Regions from separate parts of the Homo sapiens genome. Here region 1 is linked to region 2. The links are contacts of gene promoters, found by promoter capture Hi-C in blood cells and fetal thymus (Javierre and others, 2016). All regions are on one chromosome and are shown on one strand. The core of a region is centred on a gene start or on the middle of the fragment in contact, and the rest is flanking DNA. Distances in the headings are between cores, read along the strand shown. Region 1 holds the start of LANCL1 (LanC like glutathione S-transferase 1). Region 2 holds the start of BARD1 (BRCA1 associated RING domain 1).

The links. The method cuts DNA at HindIII sites, captures the fragments that hold promoters and counts their contacts. A CHiCAGO score of 5 or more calls a contact.
Region 1: the fragment with the promoter of LANCL1 here is called in contact with the fragment with the promoter of BARD1 in region 2 in 7 of 17 cell types (non-activated CD4 T cells, total B cells, naive B cells and 4 more); the score reaches 16.6 in non-activated CD4 T cells.

The regions. Positions count from the first base shown.
Region 1 is chr2:210,472,347-210,478,468 of GRCh38, reverse strand. LANCL1 (LanC like glutathione S-transferase 1) reads left to right here and starts at 1,710. Exons shown (of 10, transcript NM_006055.3): 1 at 1,710-1,849; 2 at 2,057-2,153. The coding sequence starts at 2,073. It also overlaps a transcript of CPS1 not described here. The HindIII fragment of the contact is 5,337 bases long and covers 1-2,995 here.
Region 2 is chr2:214,805,261-214,811,279 of GRCh38, reverse strand. It overlaps BARD1 (BRCA1 associated RING domain 1), which reads left to right and starts at 1,597. Exons shown (of 11, transcript NM_000465.4): 1 at 1,597-1,868. The coding sequence starts at 1,711. SNHG31 (small nucleolar RNA host gene 31) reads right to left here and starts at 1,051. Exons shown (of 4, transcript NR_110292.1): 1 at 848-1,051. RefSeq lists a silencer at 1,119-1,688 and enhancers at 2,239-2,318, 2,609-2,658. The HindIII fragment of the contact is 4,673 bases long and covers 870-5,542 here.

The DNA.
Region 1 (6,122 bases), core at 461-2,960, 4.3 Mb after region 2:
AACAGGAAAACAATGCAATCACTAATAGAAAAATAAATAAAGGAACAGGTAAAGCCCAATTGTCTAACAGGTATATGAAGGAAAGTTCAACACCATTAGCCACAGAAAAACTAAAAGATTAAACATCAGTGAGATTCTACATTATTCATTAGAATGGCAAACATTAGAACACTAGATAATACCAAGTGTTGGAGAGGAGATGGAAATGACAGAAACAATTGATATGTTGGAGTGAATACTCTTGGAGTGAACAATAGATACTGTTAGAGGGAATATAAACTAGTCCAGCAGTTTTGGAAAGCAATCTAACAACATTGGGGAAATTAAGTACAGAATCTCATATGATCCAGCAATTGACTGCTGGGTGTATGTCTCAGGGATACTCACACAGATTCATAAAAGCACATGTTCCAAGAATATTATTTGTAGTATGGAAGTTAGAAACAATGTCCATCATTAGGGGAAAGGATTAGTAAAATAAGATAGAGGCATACTATGAAAATATACAATTACCATCCTGCCTTGCTTAACAACAGTAATATTTAATTGCTTAAAGACTGTGAGTGGGATAAATGGATAGCCTTTAATCATTAAAGAAAAAATAATTGATAAAATGTCTCTCGTTTTCCTTTTCTCTCTTGTGAGTTGCTCCTTCAAACACCCATCTTTTAAAACATGAGAGATATCCAGCTTAAGACTCACCATGGGCCTCGGCTAAATCTTCATGAATTTGATGAGGTTAAGAAAGCAACTACATTTCCTAAGAAAGCAACTATTTTAAAAGAGCAAACCTGGGTGTGGGGAGGGATTAGGAGTAGAGTTTGGGATGGCAGCCTCAGAAGGACAAACTTAGGCCAAGGAGGGAGGGAGTTGGGGTGGAGACTGAGCTTCTCCAGTTGGAGGTCTGGAGCTAGGACTCTTCATTGAAACCGGAGAGAAGGAAAAGGAGAGAGTGAGGCTGACTTTTTAACTGAACTCCAAAATTCTCTGAGCAATAGAATGGGCCTAATATGTACCAGGTGGGATTTAATTTTAAATGAAAGAAAAATGTTTCAGATAGCAGGGACTGTTAAAACATTGAAATTGAATGTTGTGGATCTCCTGCTGTGTTGGTTTTCAGTATTTTTTAGAGCTTTGTTATCCAGTATTATAGTCCAATTTAGGCTAAGGAACAGAATAAATTTCCTAAGAGCTGTAATTTGTGTTTTCATGTGCTTTCCCCAAAGTATTATCAACTGCTATTTGATATCCTGTCCTTTGGGCATATTTTTGTTGTTGTTGTTGTTAATGATGGTGGTGCTTTTTTGTTTGTTTGTTTTAAGAAATGAAAAGAAAAGATTGGCAAGTCCCTGGAGAGACATTATCCCCCCACCCCCCGCCAAATTTTATCTATTGCGAACAGCAGAAATACCAGCATGTTCAGATCTAAAAGCAGTCTGTTTCTTCTCCAGGTTAAAAAAATATATACTTCTTATGACTCTGGACTTAAATTTGACTTTTTAAAAATAAGAAAAATTAAAGAAGGGTAGGAAATATTGGTCACATCTCCGCGTGATTCTAGGTCCTCACTTCTGCTACCCAGTAATTAAAATACCCTGCGTTATCCTTTAGAAATTACACGCCTGTGTCTTTAACAAACTGTAAGAGAGAAGGGGGCGGGTCTCGGGAACGGCGAAGGCTCTGATTGGCCCTCCTGGCAGGAACTGGGCGGTAAAATAGCCCTTCTGTTACTGTCCGGGGCTGCGGGGTGAGAGGCCAGGGCCGAGAAGGGCTTCAGGACGCGGGAGGCGCACTTGCTTCAAGTCGCGGGCGTGGGAACGGGGTTGCAAAACGGGGCCTCTTTGTCCGGGTGGGTTAAGGGCCCTGGCAGCTTTTTCGCGAAGGCGCCATGTCCTAGCAGTTGGGCCGCAGTGGGCCCGAGGTCCACTCGGACCGCCGAGACGGCTCGATGGCCCTGGAGCTGGAGGAAGGGGGATACCTGGGCGCCGCCGCCGCCCTCGCAACTCGGCCGAGGCCCCTATCTCAACCTAGTTTCTGTTTTTCCCCTGTTCTGCAGGCTTGCTTCCGGCGTCATGGCTCAAAGGGCCTTCCCGAATCCTTATGCTGATTATAACAAATCCCTGGCCGAAGGCTACTTTGATGCTGCCGGGAGGGTGAGTTTAGGATATGTCTGCCTGCATCCCTGCCTCTCCCCACGGTGTTCGGAAAGGTGCTCATTTTTGCCTGAGAGAGTTGAGCATCCCCCTTTAAAAAAATACATGATTCGACGATAAATACGTAAATTATTTAAAAATACATGTTAATATATACAAATTGAGCTCTAACATAATGTTAAATGTGTCATTGTTAACATTATTAATTGAAATAAACTCAATTATTGATAGTATAAATTTTAAAAATTGGCAAATATGTAGTTTACTATGTAATTGGCATTTTTTAATGTATTTTGGTTTGCTTCTTAAAAAGAGGTGAAGAATCCTAACGGTATTCACATGTGCCGTGTTACTCCTTTGTGATTATACACAAGTGCGTTCAGGGTAATGATGAGAGCAAACGGTGGTGTATGGTAAGGACGTCTTTAAACTGTTAGTGCTTAGAGAATTTGGGGACCTAGGAAACCTGAAGTTCTTTGTACCGGTGTCACTCCACAGGGCATATCCACAGCTGGAAAACAAAAAAAAAGAAACTTGTAAATTAAACTGGTTAGCATGTCACAAATCACTGTGCAAAAGAGAACCTGGATGTAAAATACTAGGGGCCTGTGTTTTCTCATGCCTCATTGGGTGAACATAATTGTTAAGAGGGAATACAGATATTTTTAAGAATACCTACTTTTGGCTGGGTGCAGTGGCTCACACCATTAATCCCGACACTTTGGGAAATCAAGGCAGGAGGATTGCTTAAGGCCACGAGTTTGAGACCAGCCTGTGCAACACAGCAGGACCTTATCTCTACTAAAATTTTTTTAAAAATTAGCCAGGTGTGGTGGAAAGCTTGTAGTCCCAGCTACTTGGGAGGCTGAGGCGGGAGAATTGCTGGAGCCTAGGAGATTCGAGGCTGTAGTGAGCTATGATTGCACCACTGCACTCTAGCCTGGGTGACAGAGACCCTGTCTCTAAAAAATAAAAAAATAAAATTTAGTTTTGAAAATGAGTTAAGTTGGAAACAAGGCACACGCTTTAAAAATTTTACCAGTTTATTTCTTTGAAACTTGTCAGCCATACAAAAGACATTTTATGTGATATAAAGGCCTTACAGATTTCATCCCTGTCAAATTAATCTGTGGGTCTGATGGTTGTTTTTTTCCTTAAAACACTTGTCACATTATAGATTAACTTGGGTCAGTAATGCAGGTAGGAGGAATCAAAGAGATGAAGAAGAGGTGTAGGGTAGAAGGCTACCAAAATGTATATGGAGTTTGAGTCAATCTGATTATTTTAAGACTAGTATTAAGCTGCCCAAACAAAGCTTTTTATAATTATCTTCAGGTCAGATGGATTCCCTTTGGCCATTTGGGCCTGCATTCTGCTTAGCTGTGCAGATTCTCAAGCTGAAGTATGTGTCTTGTCTTGCGGGAGGAGGACTTGCTGCTTCATACTGACTTGGCAAAGAGAACAGTTGAGGATTGTCCTAGTGACAGAAACCTTCAATAAAATGTACCTATTTAGACTGCCTATAAAGTAAATGCTTTTTATGAATTTAACCCTTTATTTATTTATTTATTTATTTTTATTTTTATTTTTTTAGACGGAGTCTCACCCTGAGCCCAGGCTGGAGTGCAGAGGCACAGTCTTGGCTCACTGCAACTTCTGCCTCCCAGGCCCAAGTGACTCTCATGCCCCAGCCTCCTGAGTAGCTGGGATTACAGGTGCACACCACCGCACCTGGCTAATTTTTTTTTTTTTTTGTATTTTTAGTAGAGGCAGGGTTTCACCATGTTGGCCAGGCTGGTGTCGAACTCCTGACCTCAAGTGATCCACCCATCTCAGCCTCCCAAAGTGCCGGGATTACAGGTGTGAGCCACCATGTCGGGCCAAATTTAACCCTTTGTTTCTAAGGGGAAAAATTCACAAATTTAAACCCTGACCCAAGAGTAATAATGTAGTTTATTGCCTAACGTAGTTTTTGGACAGGTCCTAGAAAGGAAGTAGCATACCAGTTCTAAAATTGTGTAATGTTGAACACGGAGGATCAAACCCTGGAGATCTGTCCTCCTTAATTTCTTAACACAAGATTTCAGTAAGGAACTGGTCTGTTTTCTGGCATCTGTCAGAAAAAAATAGAAAAGAAAAAAGGACTTTTAGAGACTTCAGATTATAGCTAGAGTTTGAATGATTTGGTGGTGTACCACAAGCAATCAATATTCTCACAGAGGTCACCTTTATTAAATGCAGAATGTGCCAAACAGAAAGTAACTTCCCTTCATAAGGCTGAGAGATTCTCATTATTCTTGATCTCTTGAAGGCCAGGCAAGATGATAAATTATATATGATCTATATACAGTAGATGACGTGTTCTCAATATAGATGCACTCTTCTATCTAGCTGAGATTTATAGGCCTTTTGTATTAACATTGAAGTATATTTTATCCTACTAAATGTATTTTCAAGTCTAGTTGAAATCTTAACCTCTTTGCAGAAATTGTTAAATAATGGGAGTGTGTCTGTCAAACAACGTCGTTTCTTCTAAAGAGTGAAATAAGGGATCATAGTGGTGCTTTAGATTAAATAATCCAGATGTGGTTGAAAGTCTGATTTGCCTTATCAAGGATGCTCCTCCGAAGTGAATCTTAACGTATCCTTAAACTATTGTTGTTGTTGTTAATTCTGATACTGCCTTCTTGCTGTTTTCAGTGTTAAGATTTTATCTCATTTTTAAAAATGAGATTCTGATGTGAGTGGTTAGGTTTATTTCTACAATCCTTACATGGTAAAATAAAATGTTTATACCCTTGTAACTTTCCCCCACATTGTTCTGAAATTTTAATTACTATGTGAAATTCAAGTCTTAGAATCACAGCAAGTTCTTAAAATTATTGAGGGAGACAATAAAGTGAGTTTTTTGGGTTTTTGTTGTTGTTGTTGTTGTTGTTTGAGATGGAGTTTCGCTCTTGTTGCCCAGGCTGGAGTGCAGTGGCACGATCTCGGCTCACCACAACCTCCATCTCCCAGGTTCAAGGAATTCTCCTGCCTCAGGCTTCCGAATAGCTGGGATTACAGGCGTTCACCACCATGCCCGACTAATTTTGTATTTTTAGTAGAGATGGGGTTTCTCCATGTTGGTCAGACTGGTCTCGAACTCCTAACCTCAGGTTATCCGCCCACCTCGGCCTCCCAAAATGCTAGGATTACAGGCATTAGCCACTGTGCCCGGCCTTCAGTGACTTTTTAAGACACTGATTCAGTGTGTGCAGAAGTTTAAAATTATTTTTCATTTGCCTTTAAGAAGAATAACGTAATGATTGTGTGAGCCTCACTGTTTGCACAGCATCTGTGGACCTTCATATGGGTGGTACTAACCCCACAGCCCCAGCCTTAGTGTATTTTCAATCCATATCTAAACTATTACTTGCCTTAGACCCTTGATCTGCTAAAGAATTAGTAAAAATGTCAACATTTACATCCCTGAATGAGAAAGACTTGTGATACACTATCTCATTTAATCCCCAAAGTACCTTTTGAAATTGGCGTGGCAGTTATTATTATCCTGACTTTATGGAGGTATTTGAAACATAAAGAAGTTATGAGTTGAGCAAGATCAGCTAATAGCGGGTAAGGATGTAGACAGGCTCATTCATTGAGAAACATTTGTGAAGCCCGTATTCTCTGCCAGACACTGTGCTGGACGTGGGTTTATGATGCTAAGTTTGATATTCTTTCTATTCTGCTTAAGGCTCTTGATATACATGAATTTGTTTTGCTTTTCTTTGGCTACTTCATTTTTTTTAAATCCTTTTTTTTAAATAAGAGCAATTAGATGTTTCTTTAGGGAATTTACCTTGCTGCAGCTTGAATACTAAAAATCCAGTAGTTTGAAAGCACCAAACATCTGATTTGTGCTTAATTTAATAAAAAGACTTTATTATAATATTGGTTTAAATAATAGACGATTACTATTAGGTG
Region 2 (6,019 bases), core at 348-2,847:
CTAGAAGGGGACACGCACATAATCGTATGTGTGTGTATCTACATACACAGGTGATATGATGCACCTGAGAGAATCCAGTCTAGGAACTAGGAAAACCTTTAAGGAGTGATACTTCAGCTGTATTCTGAAGGATGAGGAATGGAGAGGAGGCCAATTCCAGGTTCCAAAGTGAATCTTTGCGCAAAAGCCATGAGGCAGCAAGGTGCAGGGGCTTTTAATGACCTAAGGGAACGCACTGTGGGGTTGGGACCATGATGGCCAGAGGAGGTTTTGACAAGAGGCTAGTCAAAGAGCAGAGAAAAACTTTAAGGAGTTTTAAGAAAGGGAAGTGCCACGATGAGTTTTGTGTTTGGAAATGTTTTAGGCGGCCACACCGCAGTCTCGGGACTGGCTGGGACCTGGATAGACACTTGGATATCAGCTAGAAAGCTACGACAGGAAACCAGGCGAGGACGAGGCAACTGGGGATGTTGTGGAGCAGAGACGGAGAGAAAATGGGTGCATTCGAGACAAGTTAGGGGGAAAAAATGCAAGGACTTGGAAATGAACTTGGGGCGCGGCAGGAAGGCATGACGGGTTGCTCTGTAGGTCTTATCTGTAAATTACGGCGATCAGTGAAAGATCTGGAGGAGGAAGGTGGACACACTCTCTAACAAAAAAAACCCTTTTTGAAATTTTATACCAATATTTTAAAAGTAAACCAGATCTTTTCAGACATGCCTTTGAGCTGATATTTGTTAACTAGTTAGAATTAGAAACTTTCCTTATTTTTACTCAGTTACAATATACGCCACAGCTGAGGTGAGAGGAAAGAAAAGGTTGCTTTCTTAGGAACAAAGAGTGGTACCTTCAGTATCGTGGGCAAAGCTTTTCCAAGTCCAACAGCAGTCAAAACAGCGCTTTTTATAAATAACACTCAGCTAAAAGTTTCTGGGTTTGTGATTGTTCCAACGGTTAAGCTCGGATGAGGGTCCCTGGAGTCGTAGCTCCCGGGAAACGTCGACTGGCTTTCCACCTGGACTTCATCCGTCCAGGCAGCCCAGAGGGGCTTCAGGCCCCGCCCGCTCTCCTGCCAACTACAGCCTCGCGACTGCGCTCAGCCTTCAGGCCCCGCCCCTTCGGTCAAGCGGCGTGCTCTCACTGCACGGCGCCTGGGCCCCGCGCGCCGGGACCTCGGTTTCAGCCGTCCTGTCCTGCCCCGAGGCCCCTAGGCCCCGCCCCTGGGCCCCGCGCGCCAGGACTTCGGTTTCGACCGTCCTGTCCCGCCCCGAGGCTCCTAGGCCCCGCCCCCTCTGTCCCCGGCGTGTTCTCGCGGCTCCGCCCCTAGGACCCGCGCGCCGGGACTTTGGCAAGTTTCAGCCGTCCGGCCCCGCCCCCTCGGTCCCACGGCTCTCGCGGCCCCTCCCCTAAGTCCCACACGCCGGGACTTTGGCAAGTTTCAGCCTCCAGCCCCACCCCTAGGTCCCGCCCACTCGGCCAGCGGCTGGCTCTCGCGGCCCCGCCCCTGTGCCCTGCGAGTCCCTATTTTGGGAGCATTGCGGCCGCCGTGCCCCGCCCCTCCCCGCGCGCCCCGCCCCTCTGGCGGCCCGCCGTCCCAGACGCGGGAAGAGCTTGGCCGGTTTCGAGTCGCTGGCCTGCAGCTTCCCTGTGGTTTCCCGAGGCTTCCTTGCTTCCCGCTCTGCGAGGAGCCTTTCATCCGAAGGCGGGACGATGCCGGATAATCGGCAGCCGAGGAACCGGCAGCCGAGGATCCGCTCCGGGAACGAGCCTCGTTCCGCGCCCGCCATGGAACCGGATGGTCGCGGTGCCTGGGCCCACAGTCGCGCCGCGCTCGACCGCCTGGAGAAGCTGCTGCGCTGCTCGCGTTGGTAAAGACGGAGCTTCTTGGGGGTGGCTGCGAGGGCACGGGTCGCACAGTTTCTGGGGGCGGCAGAATCTTTTCAAATCTTCCGTTTCCTCCTTCCGTTCCCGCGCTGCAGTCGGGTCGGCGTGCGGTTAGCACCTGCCGGGGGATATAGTATTAACAACTTCTGCTTCTCATTCACTTTATTTTTGGGCGACTTACCGGCCTCCCCTTGCCCTGAATCCAACTGAAACGGTAGTTTTTGAACTTCAGCGGGCTGAAGAACCGTCTGGAGGTGTGGCTAAAAAAATGTTCATCCCGGTCGCGCCTCCAGAGTTTGAATCGGGCTGGGGTGGGGCTGAGGCTTCTGCATTTTTTACCCGGCCCTGGATTACCCCGCTGCTTTCCGGGAGCTGTGGCGAATTGGGCTGGCGGGCCGCCCCGGAGACCCTCTAAATTAGAAGCAGCTGCCACTCTAAGTTAAACTGGCCTTTTTGACATTTTCTCCGTGCCAGCTTTTTCGAGTGAGATGGGATGGAGCATCGGATATCTACCATAGTTGTAGATTGAAGATGGCACGGAATTTCTCATTTTCTTAGTTTGCTCAAAAGACTGTATGTCTGGTGTCCCCGCTCTTAGTGATGCTGTTTATTGTTTTCCTTCATGCTGTCACATTATGGGAGTCCTCTCAGGGTTTTCATTCCGTCCAAAGACATTTTCATGAGTGTTACTTCTTGCTTTTTTTCGTGTAGCTCTTTCTAGTATACAAACCAAGAAGGTTTGTAAAACCCAAGAAAGGTTTGTCTCATTTTCATTTCTTCTGAAAAGCATTTTTATTGAGCACTTGCTGTGTGTACAGCTAAGTATTTCTGTATGAAGATCACTGGCAGTTTTTTTGTTATTTGTAGCTGTCAAAAGTTTATATCCTTTTTGGACTTTTTTCCCCTTTGATTTCTAACTTGCAGAACTTAAGTTACCTAGTTGCATAAAGTATAAGTAACACAACTTTTTCTTTTCTTTCCTTTTTTGAGACGGAGTCTCGCTCTGTCGCCCAGGCTGGAGTGCAGTGGCACGATCTTGTCTCACTGCAAGCTCCGCCTCCCGGGTTCACGCCATTCTCCTGCTTCAGCCTCCCAAGTAGCTGGGACTGCAGGCGCCCGCCATCATGCCCGGCTAATTTTTTGTATTTTTAGTACAGATGGGGTTTCACCGTGTTAGCCAGGATGGTCTCCGTCTCCTGACCTCGTGATCCGCCCGCCTCTGCCTCCCAAAGTGCTGGGATTACAGGCGTGAGCCACGGTGCCCGGCCAAACTTTTTCTTTAAAAATGAAAAGGACTTAACTGTCAGAGTTTTGCACTTATATTTTCTTTGACGAAAACTTTTAATATCTGTGACAAAATGACATTGCACTTCTTAGAAAAGTGACACTCAGATAAGTGAGTACATGAAGACATTTGAGTTGTGTGTTTGTTTTCCTGTAGCACATGGGTCATCTGAGAATAGGAAATTTAAAACTGGCACTGCTAGTTGCAATAACAGAAGCATTATAGTTCACACCTTGATAGTCCAACGAAAGTTAGACATTCCCTTGGCACATACCTATGTGGAAGCATCGGGCTTCACTTAGACTGTGGTCAGAATGCCTGAGTTCAGGTTCTAGCTTTGACACTATTGAGTAGGCCAAGTTATTCATCTCTCATTTTCCGGATATGAGTAATACTAATGATTAGCTTATTTTCTTGTGAGGATTCATTAATAATCATAAATTTATTGAGCACCCATAAAGTGCCAGACCCTATTCTGGGTATTGGGGATTTGTTAGTGAACAAAGCAGACAATAAATTCCATCTCTTAGGGAGCTTTTATGGAAGAAACAAAATGAAATTTTACATGTATGTAAAGTATTGAGTTTGGTGGTTGTGATAGAATAAATGATAAATAATGTGTGTCTTAATCTAAAAGAATGTGGTGTTTGCTTGCTACATGATTTGGGAGAGACAAAATAGATAATATATATGAATATATGTTGTCCTGAAAAATAACAAAGCCGGTTTCACTTTTTATCCCCTACCAAATATTTTTCCAGTTTCTAACTGAAGTGAGTAGACAGTAAGAGGCAACGGAGTGTAAACAGACATCAGTAACCAGGCCCAGACTTTTAGCATGGCTCACCCATTTGACTACAGAATGCTATTGAATGCTATTGATTTTTTTTTTTTTAATCCGAACCTCTATAGATGAACTGAATCTTAACTCTTAGACTGCATGTTTTCATGTAGGGGTCTGCAAATTTTTTCGGTAAAGGGCCAGGTAATTAATATTTTAGGCCTTTCTGCCCGCAAATAGTTTTTGTTCTTATTTATTTTTACATCTCTTAAAAATGTAAAAACCATTCTTTCCTTAAGGGCTGTACAGAAACAGACTGCTGGCTTGGTTTGGCCCACAGGCAATAGTTGCTAAACTGTCGATAAAGTCTTGATAAACTTAATGTCTCAAGTTTAAAAATCCTTTTTGGTATACAATTTTATATCACATGGGGTGCCTTTTTTTTTTTTTTTTCCCTAGGCAAAGTTTCACTCTGTCACCCAAGCTGGAGTGCAGTGGCATGATTTCAGCTCACTGCAACCTCCTTCCCCCGGGTTCAAGCAATTCTCTTGCCTCAGCCTCCTGAGTAGCTGGAACTACAGGTGCATGCCACCATGCCCGGCTAATTTTTGTATTTTTACTAGAGACGGGGTTTCATCATGTTGGCCAGGCTGGTCTCCAACTCCTGACCTCAAGTGATCCGCCCACTTCAGCCTCCCAAAGTGCTGGGATTACAGGCGTGAGCCACCATGCCTGGTCTTTACATGGGCTTTAATGTTTAGAAATGATTTTGCTTTCCTCTGTAGGTGTCTCTGCAACTTTGGCACTATCTATAGTGAAAAAAGCATGGCCAGCTGCACCTTACTCAAGGAGGAAAAGCATTGTTCCTACCTCTGCCTTTGCCCTGGTAGCCTCCTGACATTGCCGGCAAGGAGCAACTCAGAATGGTCTGCTTCTTCCATTTGCTACCCTCCATTCAAAGCAGTGTCATATTATTTGAAATTGTGTCAGTATGTCCTTTTACAGAGTTTCAGAGTTCTACCCAGTGGGCTAGTGATTACCCCGATTACCCTCACATTCAGCTTGCAGCTGACATCTGCCTTGTGTTGCACATGGATCTGTTTTGCAGCAAGCATTACTTGCTGGTGAGGGTGGATTGGTACATAACCGGGCATCCTTTCTTGACCTTTAACATGAATCTGGCTTCAAGGTGAAGCCGATGAAAGTGTTCAAGAGGCCAGATGTGACATTTATATTAGGACCAAGCCTCACAACCAGAAAGAAGCTATTTAAGGATTTGGAAAAATGAGACAGGAAGACCATATTATTTGAGAGGCTGGCAGAAAGCACAGTAATAATGTGTTCCTAAAGGAAGCAGGAAATGGTAATAGGAGCTGCAGTGTAGAAGCCCCAGGTGTCATATAACACTGTTTTGTGAATTAATAGGTACCTCTTGGCATATTTTTGAGGGTGAGAGTGGGATTAGACATCTATGACAATTGTAACGTGGGCCTTTTTAATCAACTTTTTATGAAAAGTTAGAAAGTAATCTTTTAACCTTTATGATAGGTATTTTTTTTTTTCTGAGTTCTTGTTTAGGAGATGATCAAGCTTAATTTTGTATTCTCTCATACTTTGAGGCAGCATAGTGTAGATGTTAAATGTGTGGAATCTGGAGTTAGATTCCCTGGGTTCAAATCCTGGCTCCATTATTTAGGTTATTTTATCTTTTTATGCTTCCTTTTCTTCATCTGCACAAAATGAGTGGATATTCATAAGATGCCTTGAGCTGTGTCTGTTATGTACTAAATACTATATGAATATTTGTGAAATAAAGGATAGGTTCTCTGACTCCGGGTTCAGCTTTTGCCTTTCTTCATGAGTTTTGAATGTTCAGAGGCATTCTCACAGAGCAGTGATCCCCAAATGGAATGATTTCTCCCTGGCACTGGTTATTCATTAGAATAACGAGAAATCACTGAGACACTGTGTAAGGGGTGATAAGGTGATGCATTTTCTACTTCTGCCTTTAAGGAGTGTATGCTTAATTATAAGGGATAAAATAAATACAAGTTCAGGGTAAATTGTCG